Regions from separate parts of the Homo sapiens genome. Here all the other regions are linked to region 4. Evidence: promoter capture Hi-C in 16 types of primary human blood cells and fetal thymus (Javierre and others, 2016). All regions are on one chromosome and are shown on one strand. The core of a region is centred on a gene start or on the middle of the fragment in contact, and the rest is flanking DNA. Distances in the headings are between cores, read along the strand shown.

Region 1 (3,460 bases), core at 2-2,501, 680 kb after region 4:
CACTTAATATAGTATGCACACATAGTAATTGATCAATAAATAATTGTTGAGAGATTAAATCTGTAAAAATGCAGATATTACTTAGTTAATTTGTATATTCCATCTTTTTCACAGAGAAAAGGAGAAAAAAAAGCTTTTACAAGGTAAATGTTAGGGGGTCCTCAGTTTTATAAAGGTAATTTGGCCTTTAAGAATTTGATCAGAGGCTGGGTGCGGTGGCTCACGCCTGTAATCCCAACACTTTGGGAGGCCGAGGCGGGCGGATCACGAGGTCAGGAGATCAAGACCAGCCTGGCCAACGTGGTGAAACCCTGTCTCTACTAAAAATACAAAAAAGTAGCCAGGTGTGGTGGCGTGCACCTATAGTCCCAGCTACTCAGGAGGCTGAGGCAGGAGAACTGCTTGAACCCGGGAGGTGGAGGTTGCAGTGAGCCAAGACGGCACCACTGCACTCCAGCCTGGGTGACAGAGTGAGACTCCATCTCAAAAAAAAAAAAAAAAAATTAGGCTGGGCGCAATGGCTCAAGCCTGTAATCCCAGCACTTTGGGAGGCCAAGGCGGGCGGATCACGAGGTCAGGAGATCGAGACCGTCCTGGCTAAAATGGTGAAACCCGTCTCTACTAAAAACGCAAAAAATTAGCCAGGCTTGGGGGTGGGCGCCTGTAGTCCCAGCTACTCGGGAGGCTGAGGCAGGAAAAAGGCGTGGACCGGGGAGGTGGAGCTTGCAGTGAGCCGAGATCACGCCACTGCACTCCAGCCTGGGCGACAGAGCAAGACTCCGTCTCAAAAAAAAAAAAAAAAAAAAAAAAAAAAAGAATTTGATCAGAGGCCAGGCATGGTGGCTCACACCTGTAATCCCAGCACTTTGGGAGGCTGAGGCGGGTGGATCAGAAGGTCAGGAGATCAAGACCATCCCAGCTAACACGATGAAACCCCCTCTCTACTAAAAATACAAAAAAATTAGCCGGGCGTGGTTGTAGGCGCCTGTAGTCTCAGCTACTCGGGAGGGTGAGGCAGGAGAATGGAGTGAACCCGGGAGGCGGAGGTTGCAGTGAACCAAGATCACGCCACTGCACTCCAGCCTGGGTGACAGAGTGAGACTTCGTCTCAAAAAAAAAAAAAAAGAATCTTGCCAAAGGTCACAAACCAGGTAAGTGTTGGAGCTGGTATATAAATCCAACTGTGCCTACCTCCAAATCCATTGTTTGTCTTACAATTAAATAATATAGAGTGAGGAACAGGCTAAAAACCGGTAAAAACAACAAGTAAATCCGGTAAACTTGATTTGTAGGGACAAAAAAAAAACCCCGGTAACCTTCTGATAACAAACAAGGAAAATCATCCATGAATCATCCACCCTGAAAACTCTGGAATCTACTGAGGGGACTATGACCTGTAGTCATTCTGTCTTTATTTCTTTTGTTTATTTGTTTGTTTTTTGGAGACAGAATCTTGCTCTGTCATCCAGGCTGGAGTGCAGTGGCACAATCATAGCTCACCACAGCCTCAAACTCCTGGGTTTAAATGATCCTCATGCCTCAGCTTCCCAAGTAGCTGGCCAGAGGCACACACTACCGTGCCTGACTAATTTTTTTTTTTTTTTTGAGACAGAGTCTTACTTTGTTGCCCAGGCTGGAGTGCAGTGGCGCGATCTCAGCTCACTGCAAGCTCCGCCTCCCGGGTTCATGTCATTCTCCTGCCTCAGCCTCCCTAGTAGCTGGTACTATAGGCGCCCGCCACCACACCCAGCTAATTTTTTTTTTTTTTTGTATTTTTAGTAGAGACGGGGTTTCACCGCATTAGCCAGGATGGTCTTGATCTCCCGATCTTGTGATCCACCCGCCTCGGCCTCCCCAAGTGCTGGGATTACAGTCATGAGCCACCGCACCCGGCCTATGCTTCATTTAAAAAAATGTTTTGTAGAGACAGGGTCTCGCTTTGTTGCCCAGGCTGGTATCAAACTCCTGGGCTCAAGCAGTCCTCTCACCTCAGCCTCCCAAAGTGCTGGGATTATAGGCATGAGCCACTGTGCCCGGCTCCCATCTTTATTTCTTATATCAAGCTATATGAAAGACATCTGTTTACATGTCCCCACTCTTAGAACCATCACTTAATGAACACCTCTGTGCCAGGAACTTTACATGTTCTCAGTCATCTCAATAACCCTTTGGGATATATATTATTATCTCCATTTACAGATGAGTAACCCAAGTTTAAGTGACTGTCCCAAGAGCCGACAGCTAGTCCAGGATTTACGCCTGCATGCTCTTCACTCTCCACCACAGTATTATTTACTTGAGGGGTTGGTCTTTCTTACCCTGGCATCTGGCACAGTGCCTTTCCCATAATGGGCACTCACTCAAGCTTCAAATTCAACTGGCACTTCAGCAGGCTTTTGACTGTTAGTGAAGTGGAAAAGAGAAGAAAGGGAGTGTAAGGTGTTCTGGTAAACCAGTTCTGAGTGGTGGTGGGGAGGCCCTGATTTGTAGTATTTGCTAATTTCTGGAGTTGAATACTCCCACTTTGGCTAATTTCAAGCTACCAACCTACTTGCAAAATTCCTTGATGTTTAACAAGGGGTCTCTTGAGCTGGTACGAGCCAGCTCCAGCACACTGCCCAAAGGCTCAAGTCGTCAGGTACAAGTTACTTTCACTTCTCTGTCTTCTCTTCCCAGCAGCTCTCTATACTTACATGTCACTGCAACCTCAGAAGAATAAGGATTGTTCTACCTCTGCTAAAGCTCGCCTTTACCAGAGCACTACAACCTATAACCTATCCCAATTCCAAGTGGTCTTAGGGGACCCCACCTTTCTTCAACATCCTCTTCCTATCTTGTATTCAGGGCCGTTTAAGCCATTCCGCCTTCAAATGTGCCCAGGTCTCCTCTTTTGTAAATCTCTGGGCTAATCCCATAGCATCATCTGGCGTTCTACTAACAAGCAGTATAGCTCAATAGTTATAAGAGCCCGCAATGAAATCACGTAACCTGGCTTTTCTGCTGGCAAACTGTGTGCCCTTAGGCAACTTCTGTTACCTCTCTGTGCCTTTGTTTACTCATCTATAAAATGGTGATAAATACAGTATCTACACTTCATGTGGTGATTGTGGAAAACGAGATGAGTAAATAGATGTAAAGGATGTAAATAGATGTAAAAGACTCAATAGCTTAGTTATTATAATCATTATGTCCTCATGCATGGTATAAATCCATGATGACCTCAGTGTGGTTAGAAGTTTGGATTTTCCCCTTTTACAGGTTGGTCATTCACAGTAACTGTCAACAAAGCATTACAGTGGACACCGATCAAAACTTAACTCAAGGCTGGGTGCAGTGGCTCATGCCTGTAATCCCAGCATTTTGGGAGGCTAAGGCCGGTGGATTACCTGAGGTCAGGAGTTCGAGACCAGCCTGACCAACACGGAGAAACCCCTTCTCTACTAAAAATACAAAATTAGCC
Region 2 (3,348 bases), core at 816-3,315, 790 kb after region 4:
CAGTTTCCCCCAGCTCCAAGTTTGGTTGGCCACACTTTGGTCAGAACCGACAGGATCTGGCCTACAGAAATTCCATGAGATGGGCAGGGCGAGTCTCACCTCAAATTTTTTTTCTCAACCTCCACTTTATCAGTTCAGCCTGTCCTGAGGACTTGGAAACATTCTCTCCAATGGTATTTCTGGTTTTTGTTTGTTTGTTTGTTTGTTTTTTGAGACCAAGCGTCAATCTGTTGCCCAGGCTGGAGTGCAGTGGCGTGATCTCAGCTCATTGCAACCTCTGCCTCTGGGTTTGAGTGATTCTCATGCCTCAGCCTCCTGAGTAGCTGGGACTACAGGCGTGAGCCACCACACCTGACTAATTTTTGTGTTTTTAGTAGAGATGGGGTTTCACCATGTACTTAGATTTATCATGCCTTGAAAATGGACCATTTAAAATGTTTTCTCACATGGCTCTACAACTTACTTGTCTTGGGCCATTTTTTAATTCCCTAAACTAGAGGTTCCCAGCCTTTTTGCACCAGTGATCGGTTCTGTGGAAGATAATTCTTCCACAGATGGGAGCAGGATGGGGGGATGGTTTCATCAGTCATTAGATTCTCCTAAGGAGCATGCAACTTAGATGCAGCCCAGATCCCTCACATGCACAGTTCACAATAAAGTTCATATTCCTATGAGAATCTAATGCCACTGCTGATCCGACAGGAGGCAGAGCTCAGGTGGTAATGTGTGCATTAGGGAGCAGTTGTAAATACAGGTGAGCTTTGCTCACTTGCCTGCTGTACACCTCCTGCTGTGCTGCTCGGCTCCTGCTGTGCTTCTCGGTTCCTAACAGGCTGTGAACCAGTACTGGTCCATGGCCCAGTGGTTGGGGTCCCCTGCCCTAAGCTGTATTGGACTGAACAGACTCTTGAATTCCAGAGACCTCCAAGAACTCAGAGGCACTCCAGGAACCAATAGAGGCAATTCAACAAGTGGTACTTTATTCACTAAGGAAGGATGGAACCCATGCCAGCAGACCTAAGCCTTCAGAGTTGGTGATAAGCTTACATATGAGATCACAAAATCAAAATCCTTCAGGCTTGTTACCAGTAAAGATTTTTAAACATATGTTTTGGAGGAAAAACTGATTTGGAAGTTGACAGTTCATCTGCCCTTTTGATCTTTGTGTCAGTCTATGCTTATCTTTTTATTTCTTGGTACATTACAGAGTTCTCATTAAGTCACGCTTGGAATGCATGCTTACCCTGTGCTCACAGTTATCTTTAGGGAGGGTTTGTGGCTAGTAGTCCTCCCCAGCAGGTGAGGGCCCAGGGCAAAATACATTCTGTCCCTTCCTTCCAACTCTAAATGTTTAAGGCAAGATAAGTCATATTAAAATTACCACAAAGAACAGCCTCAAGTGGAAAATAAGACACACAATAAGATGACTTAGGAACATAAGGGAACCCAGTATCCTATAACCTGTCTGCCTCTGGTGTTGCAGGAATTTGTGGGCTGACTGTGTGTGAGTCTTTCCATTATTTTCTATTGCTCACTAACTGAGCTATTGTCACACCCAGTTGGTCACCACACAGAAGCTGGATCCAGAAATACCACTGGAGGCCGGGCATGGTGGCTCACGCCTGTAATCCCAGCACTTTGGGAGGCTGAGGCAGGTGGATCACCTGAGGTCAGGAGCTCGAGACCAGCCTGGCCAACATGGTGAAACCCCATCTCTACTAAAAATACAAAAATTAGCTGGGCGTGGTGACAGGTGCCTGTAATCACAGCTACTCGGGTGGGTGAGGCAGGAGAATTGCTTGAACCGGGAGGCAGAGGTTGCAGTGAGCCAAGATTGTGCCACTGCACTCACTCCAGCCTGGGTGACAAGAGTGAAACTCCATCTCAAAAAAAAAAAAAAAAAAAAGTCTCACTTTTGCTGTTCTTCGTGCCTGTAAGTCCATTCTTTGGGACTGGATGGGTGAGTGTCTTTCTCACAGGCAGAAACACAACTTGATATCACGGAGAAAGGAAACAAGAAGAAAATGAAGCCATGCTGTATTTTAGCTTGTGGATATTAATGTTGCTATTTGCATCATTTCCCACAGTTGTTTTGACATGAATAGTCCAGGAGCGTGCTAGGCAAGGGTTTTCTGAGCATGGTGGTGGTCGTACGGGGTGGTGGTGGGGATAAAGTGGAGAGAGAGAATATGACAGGTGTATAAACTGGCCTGAGCCACCATGTTGCACAGCTGCAGGGGGTGCTATTCACTATAGTCTAAGTGAATGGTGCTCCCTGGAGTCATGCACGGCATCATCTGAGCCTTGGAGGTTTAAGAGAATAAAGTAATCATCTCACTAGTCCAGCTGAGAAATGTCCTGGCCGACAGACAAGCAGTCCTCTCCCAGCAGCCTAAACCACTTTGTCTACTCAGTGGTTTTTCTCTCTACTCACACCACTTAATACTTCACTTCTGACACCAGATGTGTGTGGGTTTTTCTCCATACACCAAGGAATTCTCGTCAGGCACCAGCTTTGCATCCTATAATTCCATTCGATTCTGACACTATCTAGAGATAGCATCAGATCCCATGGGTTGAGGACCCAGTCCCATAAGACTGCTTTAGATGCCAGTTGCAAGCCCAAGGTTGTGATTAGTGCTTCCAGCCAATCAGCTATTGAGAAGGAACAGAGGTCCCTGCTAGGCACCCTCAAGCATGGAAATAAAGGCAAATCTTGAGTTCATTTAAGGGAAATCCTGGGAACCTAGCTAGCCCTGAGAAGTAAATGAGCAACTTAATAAGCAAAAAGGTAATAGTAGCTTAAAACAATAGCCAAGGAAGTTAGAGTCATGAGATGTTTGGTTCTCTATAGAAACTAAAGATAACATGTTAACAAATAGCCCTGAGTTGTTCTTTAGAAATCCAGACCCCTGCCAAATGGATCCACTGGCACACGGACCTCAGATAAGGGGAGAACACTGAGGACTGAACTCTGGCTGCCATTCTTTGTTCTAAATTTCTTCCTCAGGGGCCAGGAGGAAGTCACGCCCATGGGCCAGACCTAACATTGTTTTCTGATGACCCCAAGTCTTTAGATGAAGCTTTCCTTCCCTAACCAATTGCAAATCAGAAAATCTTTTAATTGACCCATGACCTGTAAGCCCTTGGTTGAGGATATCCTGCCTTTTTAGGCCAAACTGATGTTTAACCTCCAAGTATTGGTTTACAATTTTGCCTGTAACTTCTGCTTTCCTGAAATTTACCTGTACCTTTAAAAACCCTTGGCTTGCAGAGGTCAGATCTTGAGCATGAACTGCCAGATTCTCCTTGCATGGCACACTGCAAATAAATGCCCTCCTTTCTCTC
Region 3 (3,324 bases), core at 754-3,253, 890 kb after region 4:
GGTTTTAAGTGAAGTGGAAACATTTTCTATAAAGCTATAAAATGTGAAGTTTACATTACTTGAATAATATTACTTGAATAATAGTTTACTTGAATAATACATTACTTGAATAATATTAAAATGTGTTAAACAATGTTAGTAATGTTGCAATCTTTTGAAAAATTATGAACAATATCATTATTAAAGCCTCAGAATGAAACAATATTAAATACACTTACTTGTAACTCATATAACTCATTGCTGTATCTTCCATATTCAACCATTCCCCCAAATACTAATATTCTGGTACCATCACAGACAAATCCATGGGCAGCACAGCCTGGAGGGATATCTCCTCTAACAGCTGGCAGAAACCACTGATTCGTAGCTAGTTGCCAAAATAAAATGAAAACCGATTATAACAAACAACGGTTATCATATACTATCAGCAAATATATATCATCAATATCAGTGGGTCTCAACTGGGGATGATTCTGCCCCCCAGAAGACATTTGGTAATGTCTGGTGACATTTTTAGTTGTCACAACTGGAGGGGGCTGTTACTGGCATCTAGTAGGTAGAGGCAGGGATGCTGCCAAACATCTTACAATGTACAGGGCAATACAGGGCAGCTTCCCCCAACCTCAACAAAGAATTACCTGGCCCAAAAGGTCGAGAGTGCTGCTGTTGAAAAACCCTGATCTGTATCATTTAATTCTTACAAAACGCCCTGCTGGGTGAGTATAAAAATCTCTATTTTACAACTGAAAATTGTGAGGCTTAAAAAGGTTTGGTAACTTTAGCGCTGATCCTGGGCAACCGGCAGAGCAAGATTCAAATCAGGTCTAATTTGTTCCAAAGCCAGGGATTTTACACTAAGACCAAAGTGTCAGTAACTTTTTACCTTCATATGCTGGGGCGCTGGGAGGAGGAGAGGGTGAAAAAAATAAAACTTCTCAGACTCCACTATTTTGTTAACCTTCAAATTATTCCTGTGATTAAGTTGTTTGATCAAAGAAAAGTTATCGGTCATGAAGTAGACCCAAAATTCCATCACTGTCTTTACACCAAACAGATTTCTTGTGACAGCCTGAGCATTTACAAGGGGAAAAAAAAATTAAATCCAGTTTCCTTTCTATTCCACAGAGGTCCTCAAAGATAGGGGCTCCCTGCCCAGGGGCACTTGTGATCTGCAGTGGTGCTCAAGTTATGACAGTCCTCTTTCCGAGGGCCAGTCCAGAAGGGCGTCCACACCGAGTATGCAGACACAAGGCCGCCTCACCACGTCCCCGCCGCTTTAGAGCGCGGCTCACGGAGGGGCTCTTGACCGTTACCTGCCAAACACCGGGTTGTATTTGAGGCGAGAGTGCCAGAAGGCCTCTCGTTTTCCCTCCTCACCCCCTAGATGGTCTTCCTCCTAAGGAAGGAAGGCAGGCAAAGACGGGAAAGGCCCTAAGGAACTTTGGTTTGGAGTGGGTTTTGTTTTTTGACAGAGGCGAGATTTCGGGGAGTGGCCCAGGCGGTTGGACATGGTCTTCTGTCGCCTGCGTCCGCCTGTCGGGCTGGGGTGGGGGCGTCCGGGATCCCCCGCCTGAAGGCCGGTGCGCCCCGCTCGGGGTCCGTTGCGCCCCAAGGGCCCCGGAGATCCTGAGCTGCGGTCCGGGACAGAGCTGCCGGACCCGGGCTGCCCGGCTGAGCCGCGCTCCCCGCCGCCCGCCCAAGGAAGCAGTGACCGGGCGGTGACAGCTGTCAGGGCCGCGGCCGCCGCCTCGCCTCCCCTCCCCCTCCGCAGCTCCAGCAGGCGGGGCCGACGAGCCGCCGCCGCGCCTACCCGTGTTGTAGACGTGCAGCTCATCCGCGATGCCCTCATTTCCCCCTCCAAAGATGATCATCAGCTCCCGGATGGCCACCGCTCGGTGTCCGTGCCGGGCGCGGGGGACCGGCCCCGTGAAGGAAGAAACTCGCCTCCAGTTGAGGAGGCTGGGAGCCGCCATCTTCCCAACCCCCGCCCCTCTGCCCACAATGCACCGCTCCCGCCTCAACCGGCTGCTCCCTGGGGAGGGCGGGGACCCGCCTCCAGCTGTGCTGGGGTCACGTGGCCGCGGGCGCCGGCGGCCAGGCTGGAGGCCCGCGGGCAGTGGAGAGACGCTGGGGAAGGGGGGTCCTGACAGGGGAGCCCCGCCCCCACCCCAGGCGACTTGGCCAGCGGCCACCCGGAGCAACGCACCTTAGGGTGGAAGGACGCTTCCCACTGACCACGTCTCCCATCCCCACCCAGAGCCTCCCGTTCGGTATTTTGGGAAGAAGCCACAGCATCTTCCTTTACGTCCACTTTAATTGAGCATCTAGGATGTGTGGGCGAGGCAGTCTCACAAGCAACGTGAGAGAAGCTCGGGTAGAGGTTCGAAGAGCTGGGAGCGCAGGGCGGGGACCTCGCACGGGAGGGTGCGGGCGGGAGCCTGCCTCGCGAGCCCGGGCCACGGCGGCTGCTCCCGACCGTGACTGGGACCCGGGCAGGGAAGGTCGCTACAAAGCCTGCCGGGCGAACCGAAGGCAGCTTTGTGCGGAGCCATGCCAGGAAGCTTGGGAACCGTGAGCCACAAGAGGTATTTTTGGTTTGTTTGGCTTAAGCAGAGGAGAGATGGTTTTCTAGGTTTCTGTTTCATTGCTAGCTAACAAGTGAGGGCTGTCCACAGCCTGGCATGCCCTAAGTGCCTCATGTGTATTAACTCATGTAATCCATCCAGCAATCCAGTGTGGTGGCTCCTGTTATCTCCCTTTCATGGACGGGGAAATGAGGCACAGTGCAGTAAGGTAATTTTCTGATGGACACAAAGGAGAGGTGTTGAAAAAAAAGACTGGGGCCAGGATTCCAACACAGGGCTTCTGATTCCAGAACCCCCAAGCCCTTATATCATATACCATACTGCCTCTGATAGCAGTCATATCCAACCATTATACCATACTGCCTCTGGTAGCAGTCATACGCAACTCTTTATTTTTATTTATTTATTTTAGATAGGGTCTGGCTCTGTTGCCGGAATGCAGTGGCGCGATCAGAGCTCACTGCAAGCTCGAGCTCCTGGGCTCCAGTGATCCTCCTGCCTTGGCCTCCCAAAGTGCTGGAACTACAGGCATGAGCCACCGCACCCAGCCAATGCAACACTTAATAAGGCCTAGCTGCCCTGTGATTTGGTCCTACACATAATCACACAAGTCCATTAGGAATAAAACTGCACTGCATATGGGATTCATGCCAAATGAGTAGATTTTAGCCACTCTTGCCACAGAGACACAAAAAGGGTTGGTGGTAACTATATGAGATGATGGATATGTTAATATGCT
Region 4 (3,169 bases), core at 290-2,789:
AACCAAGACAGGCTGGCTTCTGTATATGCTTTGTGTAGAAATCTTGAAAGACTACACACTCAGGGGAGGAACACATATTGGGTGGAACTTCTGCCAAACTTTCAAGAGCAGCTACTTTCTAATGATCTGTAATTCAAAAAACAACCAGAACAAAAACCAGCTGGAAATGCAGTCAAAACACTGCTTTTCCATATTCCTTGCAATTATACTTTCATTTTTAGGTGGTGAGGAACACCAGGATGAGTCATTATAAAAAGCATGACTGCAGATGGCCAAGAGTGATACCGAAGCACCCTTCACCCTGAAGGTTAAGGTTAAAGCTCAAAGTCTGATCGCAAAGCATAAGGAAAAAAAAAAAGAACATGGATAAATGTATGCTGGTGTCCTTCAGCACCAGAAAAGCTGCTACTAAATCACTGGTGTGGCTTGGAATTGGTAGAAGCTTTGATTTGAGGAAAAGAGTATCATTAGCTGTGTAATTTTGAGTTGTTGTTTTAGAGACAAGGTCTCATTTTGTGGCCCAGACTGGAGTGCAGTGATGCGATCATAGCCCGCTGCAGCCTTGAACTCCTGGGCTCAGGCGATCCTCCCACCTCAGTCTCCTAGCCACTCCAGGTCTCGCTGTGTTTGCCCAGGCTGGTCTCAAATTCCTGGCCTCAAGCGATCCTCTCGCCTGGTCCTCCCGAAGTGTTGAGGTTACACGCATGAGCCACCAATCCTGGCATTATGGCATTAGCTGTGTAATTTTTAAAATAACTGTCTTCGGACCAACACCTTTCTTTTGTTCACTGGAGTATCCCTGGGGTGTGTCTCATTCCCTGAATCATACACAGTAGATGCTCAATAGTTTTGTAAATAAAATAAATGAGCTCTCGGATTTACATGCAGACTTTGGATCAGTTTGATCTAGGTTTAAAAGCAAGTGTGGGGAAACTTGAAAAGCCTGGCACCCCAGCCAACTCTTCAGCGCCCCATGCGCTTGGCGCCTACACCTGCCTGGCACGGGGAGGGTGCTATGGGGCTGCCCTAAACCTCACCCCCTCCTGCGGTGGTTCCTGCCCGTCTCGGCTCCTGCACCGCCCACACTATGCGCTGCTGGGCCGAAAGACACGTGGTTCGGTTTTAACTCCAGTCTGCAAGAAACATGACCTCAGCCAAAAAGAGGCCGCTGGTCTGAGAAGAGAAATCATGAGTCATGGATTCGGGGGTTCGGACCTTGGAGCAGGCGGTGAAGTGGGCGTGCGTGGGCTGGTGGGGAAGAGGGATGCCGAAGGAGGCCACAGCCCTTCTCTCCTGGGCAGGCTCCCCAGAAAACTGCCCCCTTGCCGTCATCCAGCGCCCCCGTTCCCGACAGCTGTCTGCCAGGGCGCGGCCGGGGTCCGGGCGGGGCGGTGCTGTCGCTCCGGGTCGCCGCCCCGCGGGCCACATCACCAAGGCCCGGGCTTCCCCGGCGGCGGCGCGGCTGCGCTTGCGCGGGGCTGCCGCGCGGGGGCGGGGCGGCGGGGAGTCAGGGGGCCGCGGGCGCCGACGGCCGGGCTGTCAGCTTGGGGCCGCAGCCGCGCGAGGAGGCGCGGGAGCAGGAAGGAGCTGTGGGCTGGGAGCCGCTGTCCTCCCCGCCACCACCGGTGCCGGGCACCAGGTGAATGCCCCTTCCATCCCCCGCCCCTGGTGTCTCGGTCTGGTCTGAGGAGACGGGGACCCTTCTCACACCGGCCGCTGCCGCCGCCGCGCTCCGGAACAGGTGACCATGGAGGGGAAGTCTCGGCTTCGGCCGCGGCGCCGCGTTCGGGCGCATCAGGTGCGGGAGGGAGGTGGGGCCGAGAGGCCTGGGCTCGGGACCCGGCGGCGGGGGCGCGGGGAGCAGAGGGAGCGGCCCCGCCCGAGCAGCCGTGCCCCCTGCGGACGCCTCTCCGGGCCGCCGGGCAGCGCCCGAGCCCAGGCCCCCGCGCCTGCCCCACCTCGGGCTGAGGGAAGCTGTTCCGCGGCCACCGCGGACAAGCGGTCCCGGGCGCCCAAGGCAGGGACAGGCGGCGGGTGGTGTATGAGTGATGGCTGAAGGTGAGCTGGGATGGAGATGCTGCGAGGCTGGCTCGGGCACACCCCAGATGCCTGTTCAGGGCTCCGCGAGTGCCCCGTCACCCTTTTCTTTCATTCTTCTCTTTATATACACGGAGCATATCTCAAATTTAAAAGCCCAAATGCTCATTTACAGAGAGAGATGACACATATCTATGTGTTACCGATATACATTGATGTGTATATTACGTATATATGTCATCTTTTTTTTGTAGTGACAATTTTTAAATTGAGATATACATCACATGCCATAAAACTCATTCTTCTAAAGTGTGGCTTTTAATATATTCACAGAGTTTTCCAAATATGACCACTATCCAGATCATCATCCCCAAAAGAAACCCTGTCTCTCTTAGTAATCACTCCTCATTTCCCCTTGACCCCACCCCACTAGCCACCACTAATCTACTTTCTGTTTATATGGGTTTGCCTGTTGTGGAAATCTCATATAAATGGAAGCGTACAATATGTGGCTTTTTGTGTCTGGCGTCGAAAGACATACTGTAATGTTTTCAAGTTTCACTCATGTAGTATGTATCAGTACTTTACTTTTTATAGCATATTAATATTGTTGTATCAGTGTACCACATTTGTTTATTCATCAGTTGATGTACATTTGGGTTGTTTCCAGTTTTTGGCCATTGTGTGTAATGCTGCTATGCACATTTGTTTACACGTTTTTGTGGACATGTGTTTTCAGTGCTCTTGGGTATATACCTAGGAGGGCAATTGCTCCGTGTTTCACTTTTTGAGGAACTGCCAAGCAAAGCAGCTGTACCATTTTACTTTCCCACTAAGCAGTGTATGAGGGTTCCGATTTCTTCACATCTTCCCCAAGGCTTGTTACTTTTTTACTGGTTATTTTTTATGATAGCCATCGTAGTGAGTGTGGAATGGTATCTCTTTGTGGTTTTGATTTGCATTTCTCTAATGATTGGGGATGCTGAGCATCTTTTCATGTGCTTATTGGCCATTCATATATTTTCTTTGGAGAAAATGTTCATATCTTTTACCCATATTTTAATTGGGTTGCTTGGCTTTTTATTTTTATTTATTTATTTATTTATTTATTTGGAGACTGACTCTCAGTCTG
Region 5 (3,330 bases), core at 704-3,203, 710 kb after region 4:
TCTCCTGACCTCATGATCCACCCGCCTCGGCCTCCCAAAGCGCTGGGATTACAGGTGTGAGCCACTGTGCCCAGCTGGGAAAAGTTTTTTTTTTTTTTTTTTGAGACAGAGTCTCGCTGTATCGCCCAGGCTCCAGGCTGGAGTGCAGCGGCGCGATCTCAGCTCACTGCAAGCTCCGCCTCCCGAGTTCACGCCATTCTCCTGCCTTGACCTCCCGAGTAGCTGGGACTACAGGAGCCCGCCACCACGCCTGGCTAATTTTTTTGTATTTTGTTTAGTAGAGACGGGGTTTCACCATGTTAGCCAGGCTGGTCTCGAACTCCTGACCTCGTGATACGCCCGCCTCGGCCTCCCAAAGTGCTGGGATTACAGGCGTGAGCCACCGCGCCCGGCCCCGAAATGTCATTTCTTACATACAAAAAAAATGAAAACTCCCAGTGCTGATAAATGTACACTGAAGTGAGTCCACAGGGCTGTGTAACACAAGCTAATACTATTCTTTTGAAAAACAATTTGACAGTGTGGGTCAAAAACTACTCAAATGGCCATACTTTTTTTTTTTTTTTTTTTTTTGAGACAGGGTCTTGCTCCAACACCCAGGCTGCAGTGCAGTGGCTCCATCTCGGATCTCGGCTCACTGCAACCTCCTGAGATGGCCATACCTTTTAACTCAGTATTCTTTTTTTTTTTTTTTTTTTTTTTTTGAGATGGAGTTTCGCTCTTGTTGCCCAGGCTGGAGTGCAATGGTGTGATCTCGGCTCACCGCAACCTCTGCCTCCCAGGTTCAAGTGATTCTCCTGCCTCAGCCTCCTGAGTAGCTGGGATTACCGACATGTGCCTGTGCCACCATGCCCAGCTAATTTTGTATTTTTAGTAGAGACGGGGTTTCACTATGTTGGTCAGGCTGGTCTGGAACTCCCAACCTCAGGTGACCCGCCTGCCGCAGCCTCCCAAAGTGCTGGGATTACAGGCGTGAGCCACCGCGCCGAGCCTTAACTCAGTATTCTTATTTGTGACGACTAGCTTTAAAAAAAAAAATCTAAAATAATGAAAACATTGAAAGACCCCTACCTCCTAGCCTTCTCTTAGGAAAAGCTTTCAGTAGTTTTTATTAACATAGCTATTATCACCTAGTTAAATGGGGATAGTCCCAAATTCCCTTTCAATAAAAGTGCTATAGCTTTAGGATCAATCATGTTAACTTCCTGTAAAACCCAGTGGAACAAAACAGGCCACAGGCCTATCAATACTCACCATTCCGGACCTCCTGAACATGTCCATAACCTTTCTAGATACAGGGACAAAGTTATACCTTGCCACAGCTTTTCTCTCTCCCAAGCCTAAGCTGCAAAGAGGTTCTCTCCCTGCTCTACAGCCTACACCCCTTTCTTTTCCCTGTCTTCAATCCCTTCTTTTTATCCAATTATTACCAATGATTTCATTGTAACATCATTAGCTATTGCAAAAAATTAGAAACAACAAATGTCTGACATTAGAGGAATGGCTAAATTACAGTAGCTCTCTTGTTCTAACCTTATTTAGTGGCTGCATACTATTCAAGATTCAAAATAATGTAGAAATAGTTTGACACAATTGTTAGTTTTTTAAAAACCTAGAATACCAAGTCCTATGTACCATAGTTTTACAATTCTGTGAAACTCGACATATAGGAATCCTGAAAAAGAATGTGCAAAATGGTCATATTAGTTATATTGGCGTGACAGAATTATCCATGACTTTTCTTTCCTGTATTTCCCAAACTTAAAAAAAAAATTAAAGTTGCATACCAGCCTATTGCATTTGTTCCTGTCTCTGACTTCACTAAACAGAGAAATTCATTGAAATCTTTGTACTCTTAGGGATATAAAGCAAGATATTTGAACTGTGGGATTAGTAAAGGGATTACTAAAGGAAAACACTTCCACTCCAGGACACTCCTCCTCAAGAAACATCTTCATACAATTCATATGTGTTTGTACCTGCCAAAACCACTGACTCTCACCCATGACTACTGCCACCTGAAAGCCTGCAGAGAGCCAGGTTTTGAGTGGCTCTCAGTCTACACATTGCTTAGAGAGCTATATAACTGATACTTATCTCTTTGGAGAAACCTTGATCAGCCACTTAGCTGTGGGAAGAAGCTCTAGTTTGACAACAGAGGAACATCACGGTACATAAGGAATGCAACTTAACTGGGGGAAACTGGAAAACAGAAAGGTAGCATGAAATATGAAAAGCACAGGTAATAAAGCCACTGTCCTATTTTGAGTTATCCCCAAGTGGCATTTCACAGTAAACCAGGACAATGAATGAACTTCAAAGCAGGGAAACAAAGGGGAAAGCAAAGAGGAGCCTGGCAGATGAAAGCACATGGCAAGGCTAAACACAGACTAAAACTGCCATGTGTTAGAACTTGAGTTTTCGCCATTAATGAGCAACACGATCACTTCAAGTGTGATGATAAAAATTTTATAGCACGCCACTCTGCCTGCTGTCTTCACTTTCTGGTTTACAGGTTTGTCATGCACATATTTTTACTCGTTGCCTGTGGTTAAAAGCATCTGGACTGCAAGTCAGAAGAAATCAAGGATTTCCACAGAACCCCAGACCTCTTAACAAAACTCATTCAGTTCAAGCTCAAGGAGTATGGCAAACACACCACCACTCTCAGAAGATTCCTTTTAACAAAGTAAGAATTATTACAATATTATATTCAACCCACAAGACACACAAATATTACTCTTGGGTCTGACAAGACCCCATCAAGTAAAGAAGTTACTCCATAAGAGACCCAAGAGTGGGGAAGCTTAAATGGGTAAGCTATACCCATTACAGTGTCTATAAATCAAGTGAAGACAAGAAAGTAGTTATATGTGTTTCTGAAAGTCTGTAGGATATGAGACAAGCTGGAAAAATAAAACAGAAGTCTTTATGGAAACACACGGAAGGAAGACTAAAGACTCCCTAAAAGGACATGATAATGAATTTCTAGTGTTGAAATTAATAATAAGTACATTGTAGTTATTAGTATTATTTATTTACCAAATTGAAATAAAACCCTAGGTAGGTTTTTTAGCCTTAAAAGGATTTTTAGTTTTTACAAATAAATGTCATAAGAAGAACTTAAGTGCTATAAAAAGGACTACAATATCCTGTTTATAGCTCTTGTGCTTGTACCTCCTTCAAAGGAGTCTTATTTAAGGTTAAGATTAAACCTTAGTTATGTTGGGGTCCTAGCCAAGAATTCCCACTTGCCTCACTCCACAGTTGTATTCTAATATGATTATATGCCAGGTCCAGGATTCAGTGGCTGCGTGAGCCTGAGAATAC
Region 6 (3,021 bases), core at 23-2,522, 750 kb after region 4:
CAGGCTGGAGTGCAGTGGTGCCGTCTTGGCTCACTGCAACCTCCACCTCCCGGGTTCAAGCAGTTCTCCTGCCTAGCCTCCTGAGTAGCTGGGACTATAGGTGCACGCCACCACACCTGGCTACTTTTTTGTATTTTTAGTAGAGATAGGGTTTCACCATGTTGGCCAGGCTGGTCTTGAACTCCTGACCTTAGGTGATCCACCCGCCTTGGCCTCCCAAAGTGGCGTGAGCCACTGCACCTGGCCATTGAGTTTTAATTTAATTATACATGATTTGTTTAAAGAGCATCAAAAGGGAGGGCATCTCTTTTCTTTTTTTGAGACAGAGTCTCACTCTGTCGCCCAGGCTGGAGTGCAGAGGCACACTTTCAGCTCACTGCAACCTCCATCTCCCGGGTTCAAGCAATTCTCCTGCCTCAGCCTCCTGAGTAGCTAGGATTACAGGTGCATGCCACCACACCCAGCTAATTTTTTATATTTTTGGTAGAGACGGGGTTTCATCATGTTGGCCAGGCTGGTCTCAAACTCCTGACCTCAGATGATCCACCCACCTCGGCCTCCCAAAGTGCTGGGATTACAGGCGTGAGCCACCATGCCTGGGGGAGGGCATCTCTTTTCTACCCAATAATAATTAATTCCCAGTCCTCATCTTACTTGGCCTATCCATGACATATGACCCATGTTTCATAATCTCCTCCTTAGAATGATTGGCTTCCAGGGTACCACACTAACCTAGATTTTCTCCTATTGTGCTGGATGCCCCTACTCAGTCTCCTTTGCTGGTTCCTCCTCAATTTTCCTGGCACTTAATATTGAAGTACTAAAGCTCAGTCCTCGAACTTCTCCCCTCCTCTCTCTCTTATAATCTGCATTTGCTTCTCTGGTGATCTCCTTTAGTCTCAGAGCTTTAAATGTCATCTATCTGCTGACAACTCCCAAACTTATGTCTCCTGCTGCAGCCACTTTCATTAACTCCAGGCTCACATATTCACCTGGCACCTGGCATCTCCACTTGAGTGTCTAATAAACATCTCAAGCCTAAAATGTCCAAGCAGATTGTCCCCTCCCAAACCTATTCCCACGGTCTTCCCCATCTCAGAAAATGGCAACTCCATTCTTCCACTTGCTCAGGCCAAAAACCTTGGCGTCATCCTTGATTCTTCTCTCTCATACTCCACCTTCAATTGGCCGGCAAGTCCTGTCCACTCTACCTTCAAATGATATTTAAAAATGAATAAATTGGCCGGGAGCGGTGGCTCACGCCTGTAATCCCAGCTCTTTGGGAGGCCGAGGCAGGTGGATCACGAAGTCAGATCGAGACCATCCTGGCTAACATGGTGAAATCCCCTCTCTACTAAAAAAATACAAAAAAATTAGCCAGGCGTGGTGGCAGGCGCCTGTAGTCCCAGCTACTCGGGAGGCTGAGGCAGGAGAATGGCGTGAACCCGGGGGGCGGAGCTTGCAGTGAGCCGAGATCCCGCTACTGCACTCCAGCCTGGGCGGCAGAGCGAGACTCCGTCTTAAATAAATAAATAAATAAATAAATAAATAAATAAATAAATTCCCTACATCCAGCTTATAGGAAAAAGAAGATAAAGGAACAAGTTAAACAACACTATGGGGATGTAAATGGCAAAATCCAGAATCTGCCAATTTCATCCACAAATACAGTAATTGCAAGGGAAGAAAAAGAGGAAGTGGGAACTTATTGATGAAAAGAGACTTAGGATATATGAAGTACCCAGAGTTGTCAAATTCGCAAAGACAGAAGGTAGAATAGTGGTTGCCAGGGATTTGGGGGAGGGGGAAATTAGGAGTTTAATTTAATGGGTACAGAGTTTTAATTTGGTAAGATAGAAGTAGTTCTGGAGACGGATGGTGTGATGGTTCCACACAGTGTAAATGTGCTTAATGCCACTAAGCTGTATACTTTAAAATGCTTAAAATTGTCAATTTCTCATGTATATTTTACTACAATATAAAGAGGGAGAGAGAGAGAGAGACAGGAGACACATCAACCAAATGCAGTGCACTTTGGGTTCTGATGTCAAAAAAAATCAACAAATTAATTTTTAAAAAAATTGTGGCCGGGCGTGGTGGCTCACGCCTACAATCCCAGCACTTTGGGAGGCAAGGCAGGTGGATCCCCTGAGGTCAGGAGTTCGAGAGCAGCCTGGCCAACATGTTGAAACCCCATCTCTACTAAAAATACAAAAATTAGCTAGGCGTGGTGGTGCGCGCCTGTAATCCCAGCTACTTGGGAGGCTGAGGCAGAAGAATCGCTTGAACCCAGAAGTCGGAGGTTGCAGTGAGCCGAAATCACACCATTGCACTCCAGCCTGGGTGACAAGAGCAAGACTCTGTCTTTAAAAAAAAAAAAATTATTTATATATGAAAACATTTTGAATATGGACTGGATACTTAAGATTGTTAATGTTTTATTTGTGATTCTATTTGTGTAGTAAGGTTTTTAAAAAGTACTTTTCTTTTAGAGATACATCCTGAAATAGTCGCAACTGAAATTATTATGTATCTGGGATTAAAAAAAAAAAATCTAATAGGCCAGGTGTGGTGGCTCAAGACTGTAATCCCAGCACTTTGGAAGCCCAAGGCAGGTGGATCACTTGAGGTCAGGAGTTCGAGACCAGCCTATCCAACATGGTGAAACCCCGTCTCTACTAAAAATACAAAAAAAATTTAGCCGGGCATGGTGGTGCATGCCTGTAATCCCAGCTACTCCGGAGGCTGAGGGAGGAGAATCACTTGAATCCAGGAGGCGGAGCTTGTGGTAAGCCGGCATCGTGCCATTGCATTCCAGCCTAGGCAACAAGAGCAAAACTATATCAAGGAAGGAAGGAAGGAAGGAAGAGAGAGAGAGAGAGAGAGAGAGAGAGAGAGAGAGAGAGAGAGAGAAAGAAAGAGAAAGAAAGAAAGAAAGAAAGGAAGGAAGGAAGAAAGAGAGAAAGGAATCACCTTCTATATAATGCAAAATGGTAATAATAATATAACAACATAAGGTAA
Region 7 (3,075 bases), core at 165-2,664, 820 kb after region 4:
CTCTGCCTCCCGGGTTCAAGCGATTCTCCTGCCTCAGCCTCCTGAGTAGTTGGGATTACAGGCGCCCACCACCACGCCCGGCTAATTTTTGTATTTTTAGTAGAGACGGGGTTTCGCCATGTTGGTCAGGCTGGTCTCGAACTCCTGACCTCAGGTGATCGGCCTGCTTCGGCCTCCCAAAGTGCTGGGATAACTTTTTTTTTTTAAAGGGCTTTCTATGTATACATTATCCCAAACAACCCTGAGAAGCAGACATTTGGCCAAGATCACAAGCCTGTAAGAAGGGGAGTTGGAATTCAAGTCAGGTTGTCTGATGACAGTGGCATTGCTACTTACTCCTCTTGTCACAATTTGGGGCTTTCATTTGTCTTTTCTTCCATACTTGCCGCAGAAATGTTTAAATACTCTGAGAAACAGTAGGAACTCTATAAATAAAAGATCTCTGTATTTTTACATAATCAAAGCTGGAGAGTTTAATGTGGTGCAGGCCACTCGGTTAGTGGAAGCAGAGGGCATGCCATCCCCAGCTCCGGTTGCAGTGAGTGGATCCAGTGTTGGATTACCCACCTCTGGGATGGTCACTGCTAAGCGAAGCTGAACTCAGGACTGCAGTTTGAGAAAGACAGCGAAGGAGCTTGGCTGCACAGAGGCAAGAACGGGCCACGGATTCTTGCAGCCAAAATGTCATCTGGTTGGGAAAAGCCGCTTGTCAATCTGCAGCTACTAGAGGGGTGGGGGTGGGTGGAAAATGCAGCATCTTAAGTTCAAGATTCAGGGTGAAGGCTGGCTAGACTTAGCAGGGGTCTGCATCTTTAGATGAAATGTGAAAAACACCCAAGCTCAGGGACCAAATGACAGGGAGCGCTGTGCATGCGGCGACGCTAACAGGGACCCAAGGAAAGAAAACACGAGGCGCTGAAGGCGCTCCAGGAGGCCCCCGCCGTTCAGACCCTCCCGGTGGCTCGGGCGCGTCGTCCTAGGGGGCGGCTTCTGTCCTTGGTTTCCCCTTCTTAAAAATCCAGGCGCAGGCAGGCTGAGCTCAGGCGGCTGAGGCACCTCCACGTGGCGGGGGAAGGGGTGACAAAGAGAGGGACGCCCGAGAGATCCCGCTTCGCACAGGCCCGGGTCAGCACCGGGAAGGAGGCCCGCCTAGACCCGAACGGCGCGCCCGGGCAGGGCCCTGGAAGACCTCGCGCCTAGAGGAGCGGCATCCGGAGCGGCGCGGAGGCCTCACAGGAACGCGGGACTGGGCCGGGGGCGGGGCGGGGCCGGGGGCGGGGCGGGGCGGGGCGGGGCCGCGGCGGGCGGGCGCGCGGGCGGCGCGGAGGGAGGGTGTCGCGCCGAGGGAAGCGGCCCGCGGCGGAGGGAGGGGAGGCCGAGTCCTGGAAGCGGAGCTCCGCGCTGGGACTGGTTCCTTCGCAGCCATTTTCTGTCCAACCAAACAGCCGATTGGAGACGGGAGCCAACCAGGGCTGCATTGGAGGTTTGTGTCTCGCTTCGGCCAATGATCGCTCCTAAACCGACTCCACTTTAGCTCGAATGAAATGTCCGTCTCCTCCCGGCGCCGTCCCCGCCGCCAACGCCGCCGCGGCCGGGGGCACTAGCCTCCCGCCCTCCCGCGCGGGCCGAGGCCGGGCCCCGCGCCTGCGAGGCCGCTCCCGCAGCGGGCCGGGCCGGGGAGCGGGCGCGGGGCCGCGGCGCGGCTCTTTGTGCGCCGGGCTGAGGAGCGGCGGGACGCGGGCCAGGCCACCTCACCCTCGCCGCCGTTGAGCTCCGGGCCCGGGGCCGAGGAGGGGCCGCGGGGCTGCGTCGGGGCCCCGCTCTCGACGGCGTCCCGGGCCGGCTCCATTTTGTGCGGGGAGCCGGCCGAGGGGCGGGAGACGCGGCCCGGGCCCTGGCCCCGTAGCCCCGGCGGCGGCGCGAGTCCCCGGGGGCGCCCTCCTCCCGCCCGCGGGGCTGTGGCGGGGCCCGGCGCTTTGTCTGCCCGCACATCCCGGGGGCCGCGCGGCGGGTGGGAGGCAGGCGTTGGGCGCGGGGCCGGGGCGGCCGGGCGAGTCAGGGGATGCGCTCTGGGGGCGGCCTCCTGGCACTCGCAGGGCTGACAGGTCGCCGGGACCAGGCCGTGGGGCCGGGGCCACCCAGGCACCTGCGTGGGGAGGAAGGCATGGCTTTAGCTTCCCCGCAGCCTGGTTTGCGCGTAAAGAATGCAGCCATCTGGCGGTTTGCGGTCCCTGTACTTGCCCCGAAGGTGGGAAGGAAGCCCTTCGGATTGGACTAAGGTTTTAATCATTAGTGGTGGGAGGCGGGAGGATATGCAGGGCCTTAAAGAACGGTAGTCTTAGAGAACAAAGAATTACAGAGCACCCACAAATCGTAATCTCGCCCAAAGCACTCTAACAGGATAATTTAAACAAGGTTAGGTAGCCTGCGACCTTTAAAAAAATGGCATCCCACTAACCCGCATGGACCCCATAGTTGCGTGGTTCGTGCTACAAATCACTGGGGTGGTTTCATCTCTCTTAGTATGGAAACTAATCAGCAACATAAAGTGATGAAAGCAAACGGATCAATATCAGTGGCACTAATCAGTGGGGGGTTTATTTGTAAAGTATTGAAAGTTTAACCAAAATTCCTTAAAAGGCAAATTATTCCTTCCCTGCATTGCTCTTGTATCTTAATTTAAGGATTACTGTATATTGATGCAAAACTCTGGTTGTTGATGCCAAAGAATGGAGGGTGGAGGAAGGGACTACTGCTTTTCTTGGATACAAATTTGCATTTCTTAAAACATTAAACAGATGTATGCATTCCCTTGAGCTTTTACATATATCAACCTGCCCTTAAGAAAATATACACCATATGAGGTGACAGTGTTTTTCTTTAATGTACTGAGTCTAAATATATACTGAATCAACTATTTGGGTGAGTGAGTGTGGTGTGGTATGACTCCCTGCCCACACCCCCCTCTCCCATTCCAAGCAAAATACATAAATATAGCTCCCATGTTTTAAGTGTTCTGAGGGCTTATTTTTTCAAAGACACTCTTTAAAAAATAACATTTCTCGTTACAAGGAA

Evidence for each region. The method cuts DNA at HindIII sites, captures the fragments that hold promoters and counts their contacts. A CHiCAGO score of 5 or more calls a contact.
Region 1: a fragment that was not itself captured here is called in contact with the fragment with the promoter of SLC41A2 in region 4 in 1 of 17 cell types (total B cells); the score reaches 5.1 in total B cells.
Region 2: a fragment that was not itself captured here is called in contact with the fragment with the promoter of SLC41A2 in region 4 in 7 of 17 cell types (non-activated CD4 T cells, endothelial precursors, naive B cells and 4 more); the score reaches 8.1 in non-activated CD4 T cells.
Region 3: a contact is called between the fragment with the promoter of HCFC2 here and the fragment with the promoter of SLC41A2 in region 4, in 8 of 17 cell types (total CD4 T cells, total CD8 T cells, naive CD8 T cells and 5 more). The highest score is 12.7, in total CD4 T cells.
Region 5: a fragment that was not itself captured here is called in contact with the fragment with the promoter of SLC41A2 in region 4 in 2 of 17 cell types (total B cells and naive B cells); the score reaches 7.6 in total B cells.
Region 6: a fragment that was not itself captured here is called in contact with the fragment with the promoter of SLC41A2 in region 4 in 4 of 17 cell types (fetal thymus, activated CD4 T cells, total B cells and 1 more); the score reaches 6.9 in fetal thymus.
Region 7: the fragment with the promoter of NFYB here is called in contact with the fragment with the promoter of SLC41A2 in region 4 in 5 of 17 cell types (activated CD4 T cells, naive CD8 T cells, fetal thymus and 2 more); the score reaches 5.6 in activated CD4 T cells.

Annotation. Positions count from the first base shown.
Region 1 is chr12:104,275,545-104,279,004 of GRCh38, reverse strand. The region is part of intron 3 of TXNRD1 (thioredoxin reductase 1); the gene reads right to left. All of the region lies in intron 1 of TXNRD1-AS1 (TXNRD1 antisense RNA 1), which reads left to right. Among named protein-coding and RNA genes, the nearest start is that of TXNRD1-AS1, 3.6 kb to the left of the region's middle. RefSeq lists an enhancer at 2,886-3,055. The HindIII fragment of the contact is 2,232 bases long and covers 136-2,367 here.
Region 2 is chr12:104,165,630-104,168,977 of GRCh38, reverse strand. No RefSeq gene overlaps it. Among named protein-coding and RNA genes, the nearest start is that of LINC02385, 2.7 kb to the left of the region's middle. The HindIII fragment of the contact is 2,041 bases long and covers 1,045-3,085 here.
Region 3 is chr12:104,063,210-104,066,533 of GRCh38, reverse strand. It overlaps HCFC2 (host cell factor C2), which reads right to left and starts at 2,003. Exons shown (of 15, transcript NM_013320.3): 1 at 1,811-2,003; 2 at 219-367. The coding sequence starts at 1,973. It also overlaps a transcript of GLT8D2 not described here. RefSeq lists silencers at 1,627-1,766, 1,987-2,156, 2,138-2,307, 2,317-2,476. The HindIII fragment of the contact is 6,452 bases long and covers 1-2,563 here.
Region 4 is chr12:104,956,660-104,959,828 of GRCh38, reverse strand. It overlaps SLC41A2 (solute carrier family 41 member 2), which reads left to right and starts at 1,539. Exons shown (of 11, transcript NM_001352171.3): 1 at 1,539-1,741. RefSeq lists silencers at 1,361-1,630, 1,821-2,150. The HindIII fragment of the contact is 5,296 bases long and covers 445-3,169 here.
Region 5 is chr12:104,242,892-104,246,221 of GRCh38, reverse strand. All of the region lies in intron 1 of TXNRD1 (thioredoxin reductase 1), which reads right to left. Among named protein-coding and RNA genes, the nearest start is that of TXNRD1, 29 kb to the right of the region's middle. RefSeq lists an enhancer at 2,173-2,342. The HindIII fragment of the contact is 1,711 bases long and covers 1,098-2,808 here.
Region 6 is chr12:104,209,249-104,212,269 of GRCh38, reverse strand. No RefSeq gene overlaps it. Among named protein-coding and RNA genes, the nearest start is that of TXNRD1, 5.0 kb to the left of the region's middle. RefSeq lists an enhancer at 2,373-2,542. The HindIII fragment of the contact is 6,114 bases long and covers 1-3,021 here.
Region 7 is chr12:104,136,549-104,139,623 of GRCh38, reverse strand. It overlaps NFYB (nuclear transcription factor Y subunit beta), which reads left to right and starts at 1,414. Exons shown (of 8, transcript NM_006166.4): 1 at 1,414-1,483. RefSeq lists enhancers at 677-846, 1,670-2,261, 2,262-2,855 and silencers at 1,231-1,530, 1,581-1,680, 1,781-1,860, 1,921-2,050. The HindIII fragment of the contact is 8,431 bases long and covers 1-3,075 here.